Regions from separate parts of the Homo sapiens genome. Here region 1 is linked to region 2. The links are contacts of gene promoters, found by promoter capture Hi-C in blood cells and fetal thymus (Javierre and others, 2016). All regions are on one chromosome and are shown on one strand. The core of a region is centred on a gene start or on the middle of the fragment in contact, and the rest is flanking DNA. Distances in the headings are between cores, read along the strand shown.

Region 1 (2,776 bases), core at 156-2,655, 650 kb after region 2:
TTCAAGAGAATTCACCCTAAGACATTTTAAAATCACTCCAGAGAATAATTGCCCATTCACTCTTGTTTCCACATGAGACCTGGCTTGAACCTTCTATCATCATGCTCATCCCAACAAAGCTTACCCAGCCTTTGCACAGTTCCTGTAGTCACTGAGATGATCAGCTACCTATTCACTTTTCCATTCCTCATTTACAATATGAGCTCTACAGACAATCTTGGTCAGCAAGAATGGCCAGCTGACTCACTGACCGGTATCTAAGTTATTATTACATGCCACCTTGTAGGCTTTCTCCTTTGGTGGCAGACATTAGGATTTTCTCAGTTGCAGGTGAAGAAGGAATATTTGGATTTTCTCTATCAACATTATTAATTTTTTTGATTCTATATCAACATTATTAACATTTCCCCCATATACTTTTATTTGGATATTAAAAAAATAAGGGTATAACTTTCAATCTGACCTACTCTGACTGGTACCTGGACAATAAATGACTCTTTTAAGGGAGAGCTCTCCACCCTGCTGCATTCTTCTCTGTGCCCCTAGGAGGCTGACTTCTAGAGGCTGTATTAGCTAGGTTGGGGTGCCCTTGGCCTTCTAGGTGGATTTGGCCAGTGGAAGGCATGAGGATACTAAAGGATGAGAAGAAGAAGAAGTCTGGGTGTTTTTCTGCCTTCCACTTCCCTTCAGATCTCCTTGCCATTTAGGCCTACTGGTGGTAAGAGCTTCTTGCTGATATTAATAAGTGTTTTATCATCTATTATAGGTAAGCTTGATCCTGCCCATATCTTTTAACATAATGTCTTTAATAAAGTCTCTTTAATTCCCTCTTTGAGTACTCAGTCCCATCTGTGTCCTGCCAAGACCCTGACTGATTTAGTCACATTGTTTTCTTTGCTCTCAGCTTAGTCTTAAATATGCACAATGTAGCACACTTGCAGGTTCCTGTTACTTTTAATTAGATCATTGTTCACTTGACACCTCTCTAGCCTGCTTGCAAGTGACCTCTCTTGGTGCTCTAAGTCAATGCTTCTCTAATTTTAATGACTTGCATACACATCACCTGAGCGATCTTGTTACAATCCAGATTCTGACTCAGAGGTCACGAGTGGGGCCCGAACTCTTTGACTTCTAATAAATTCTTGGGTACTGAAGGTTTTTGGGCCCACAGACCACACTTTGAGGCTTCAATTCAAACATTGAAGACCAAGAGGGATGAAGGAGAGCAATGGTTCTCCAAGCATACTTAGTTCTTAACCAGCAGCATCAGCACCACCTGAGGACAAGACTGTTACAAATGCAAATTCTGGGTCCCTAACCCAGACCTACTTAATCAGAAGTTCTGGGGTGGGGATCAGCAATCTATGTTTTAGCAAGCCCTCCCAGTGATTCTGATTCACAGCTAAGTTTGAGAATCACTGAAATAGAAGATAGTGCACTTGTAATAGCTATTTTTGAGTTAAAATTACTTGAGTGACTTCACATAAAACAAGGCATGGATTCCTCAGAATAAATCTATTCAATATAGAGAAGCAATATAATGCAGGAAATTGACATTAGCCACATTGACAGAATTTTAAATTTCTGCTATTGTCATACACAATATCATGAAGGAAAAGAAAGTTACCAATAAATGTGTTTTGAAGATAGCACATTTCCTCAAGATTCAGTTCATTTTAATCATACTTATAACACTCAGATCTATGGTAGGTACTGCAAGAGATACAAATCTCTAGTCAGTCTTTGTCTTATGGAATTTACAATCTCAAGGAGGGAAAAAAACAAGCATTGGCTGGGACTACTGCAAGGCTTCTTTCTAGGATTCAAATTATGAAATCAGAGAATAAGGAATGATCAGAAGTCTGTAAAACGGCAGCATGGAGATAGAATATTTCCTGGACTAGAAGCAAGATGGACAAGAATCAGGTGATCCTTGGATAAAGGAGAGCCACAGAGATAAACACTATTGAATTCTGTTGTCTGGTTTAGCCCTACTGTGAAGCTGCTTTTGACTAGAGTATCTTTTGTACCAAGCTTTTGAATCACAGCATCGCTCTGATTACATGCCTACCAAGCAAATTTCTGGCTTTTGCTATTGCATTTGTTGTATAGCCAGAGAACGACCATCCACTAGTATGACCAGTTTACTAGACAGTTGATCTCATTCTAAATTAACATAATTTCATTCTTGGCTCATGTTCATACTTTTGTGCATTTAAGAATTGTGAGCTAGATGTGATTGACGTGGAACACTGACAAGATAGAATTTTTGAATAGTGAGGCTAGAATTACGGGTTGGACCACAGCAGTTTCTCTACTATAATGCTACCTATATAGTTTCTTTATGGATAACCAACCAGTCTCTAGTGGTAATATCCATCTCAATATACATCCCATTTAAACCTTTGAAAGTCACACAAATATGAGAAGGCCATGGCAGTTGCATAAAAGTGGTCTGCCTAAGATAAATATTCAAAGGAAGAGTCAAACAGATCAGATTGGGAGATATGCTCAGGAAGATCAGTAAAACTTAGAGAATGGGTAGACTTTTTTTAATTGAAAAAGAATTCAAATAGCATAAAATCTACCTTTTTTTAGTGTATGATTTAGTGGTTTTTTTTTTTTTTTTTTAAGACAGAGTCTTGCTCTGTCACCCAGGCTGAAGTGCAGTGGCACAATCTCAGCTCACTGCAAGCTCTGCCTCCCGAGTTCACGCCATTCTCCTGCCTCAGCCTCCCAAGTAGCTGGGACTACAGGTGCCCACCACCATGGCTGT
Region 2 (2,700 bases), core at 82-2,581:
AAAGTTATCCTTTTTACATAAAAGCTTGTTTCAAAGTATAGAGAAATATGCCAAATTTAAAACTTTTGGTAAGGACCAGTTATGCTGATCCACTCATGTTCATTTCCCATCTACTCAGCTGAGCACTAAAAAAAATTCTCACTATCCTCTTCCAGAAATCACCTCTTAAAACATAATTTCCCCGAGATGATTATAATTTATTTAATGTAAGTTCTAAGTAGACAGATTCATATAATTATATTCATAAATCATCTTTGAACATAAGGATTAATTCAAAGCCTGGTGCATAAGTGCTCAATGAATAAGTGCTAACTAGATGAAATAATATTATACTCTGGTTAATGAATTGACATACTACATTTTACTAGGAGTATTTGCATGTGTAACATGCCTTTTGGTTGCGCACAATTAAATGCAAGTTAATCTGATTATAAAAGTTTAAAAACTGGATACAAAAATCTCCATACAAAAGATCTCTGCCGTGACATTAATTACCACTCCAAGCACCATGCATCATCTGACAGCTACGTGGCAATGGTGTGAACCACACACAAAGCCAAAAAAATAAAAGGATCTAATTCAAAGACTATATATACATATAAGAGGTTCTCTGATTTTTAGCCCAAATTCTAGTTTCCTTTGTGCAATAATGATTATGGTTCTTTCACTGAGTGGGTGCAGCAAGAAAGCAGAACTAGAAATTAGGCTTATGAGGGCGTCTACACTTTTACAAAGAACATGCCTCGCATTGTTAGGTTCCCTAAACTCAAAGGAGAGTCAGTCTAAGCATTTTAGGAGTCACAATCTACAAATTCCTAGAAGTAACTAATAATAATGCATTAAATGCACATTTTAATTTTTTCTAGTGTTGGCCTTTAATGCAGGGGAGGCAGGTAAGGAGCAGGAGCTCTTTAAACTGCACAGTGTAAAACGCCAGCGAGGGCCCGGGGTGCCCAGAATGCCGCAGGGCCGCGGCAGAGCTCTCCTCACAGCCTTCACCAGAAGTCTACAAAGCGCCTAGAACTGGGGTGTTGAGAAAGGGGGAGGAGCATTTTTGAACCGGGCGCCAAAGACGCACTGCACAGGCACGGTAACTGACGGAACCCGAGGCGTTCGAAAGAACGCATCCTACTCCCGCCTTTCGGACACTGACCTGGGAGCCACCGTGGCGCCCGCTGAGGTATCCGTGCAAGCAGCACGCTGAGGCCACGGTGGGGACCGAAGGGGACGGCTGCCCAGCCCCAGCTCCGACAAGGTACCCAGGCCGCCACAGCTGCCAAGCGCGCAACCGCCATCTTCGTAGTTGTCCCCGCACCCTGCAGTGTCCCACTGAGGGACACGCTACGCAACGGAACCGAGGCTGCGCATGCGCTTCAGGCTGGAAGGCGGAACTTGCTAAAGAGCTCCCCGCAAGATTTTCAGCTTGCGAAGAGCGCACATGCGCAGAGCGTCGTGGCTCTTTCGTTTAGACTGTTGGTTCTACTAGTAGCGGGGTTTGGCTTGGGGCCTTTAAGATGTTTTGAGTGGCGTCGGGAGGCTGCCCTATCAGCGGGCTGATAGATACTACAGAGCTGGAAGCTCAGAAAGGAACCCTATCCAACGGTCCTAGATGGGAAACGTCTCCTGTCGAGGACACCAGGCTTGCTGCATCACCTGCAATCCCGCCGACCGCGTGACAGTTTTAACCTGTACTGGAAATGCTCCCAAGATCTGACATTAATCTCGCCTGTATAACCTGGAATGGTATCGGACATTCCCCGCTCTAGATCTATATGCCTGATTAACGAAATACTGAATTATCTTGGCCCCCTCCTCGTGCTATATGCGAAAATAAATTTCAGTAAAAAAAGATTTCAACGGAAGAATACAACTGAGAGGATTAAATAAATTTTAGGAGAATATTATATAATCCGGGGACAGAAGGGACTTTCTTAACCAAGATTTCAAAACCCCAACATCATAAATAAAAAATATATTTGTATACGAATTTAAACTTTTTGAATGGCAAAAGACACCTCAAGTTAAGAGCTTAGAAAAATGGATTTTGTAGCATAGATACATTAATACTTCTACTCAGCCTGCTCCTATAAATAAGAAATATAATTCAAATAAAATTGGCCAACAGCTATAAATAGGCAGCCCATATAAGGAAACATGATGCTCAAACTCACTAAATGAAAAACTGGAATTAAAAAAATAATGCCTTTTTCCCCCCATTCAGTTGGCAAAAAAGAAAAATAATTGGCAAGGATGCTAGACACTAGCACTTATGTATGATTGCTAGGAAGGTGAATTACTAAAATTTGTTGTGAAGTAATATGGCCACATCTATTACAATTTTAAAATATGCATCCATTCCAGTGCCTTTTAACGCAGTGGCACCAATTTGTGATTATCCTATAGAAAAACAACACTAGTTCTTAAGACTGCATATTATCTACTACACCGTTTTTAGAGGCAAAGAGAAGGAAAAAAATGGGAATGGCTAACAATAGAAAAATAGTTGAATAAATTGTAGTACAAGGGTTTCCGGACTCCAGCTCTAAATACCTTTCAAACTAATTCCTGGGGGCCTCAAGCATCAACCATGGAGTTTTACGTAGTAGTTTCCTATTTAAAAGTTATGGTGGCTTGTGTAATACTTTGAGTATATATAAGATAGTAAAGTAACTTTTATTATCCTGGTTATAAATTTGGGGG

Evidence for each region. The method cuts DNA at HindIII sites, captures the fragments that hold promoters and counts their contacts. A CHiCAGO score of 5 or more calls a contact.
Region 1: a fragment that was not itself captured here is called in contact with the fragment with the promoter of ABHD10 in region 2 in 1 of 17 cell types (fetal thymus); the score reaches 5.1 in fetal thymus.

The regions. Positions count from the first base shown.
Region 1 is chr3:111,327,780-111,330,555 of GRCh38, reverse strand. No RefSeq gene overlaps it. Among named protein-coding and RNA genes, the nearest start is that of CD96, 210 kb to the left of the region's middle. The HindIII fragment of the contact is 1,263 bases long and covers 774-2,036 here.
Region 2 is chr3:111,977,657-111,980,356 of GRCh38, reverse strand. ABHD10 (abhydrolase domain containing 10, depalmitoylase) reads right to left here and starts at 1,331. Exons shown (of 5, transcript NM_018394.4): 1 at 1,154-1,331. The coding sequence starts at 1,295. RefSeq lists enhancers at 1,092-1,141, 1,162-1,211, 1,222-1,271, 1,130-1,689. The HindIII fragment of the contact is 3,690 bases long and covers 27-2,700 here.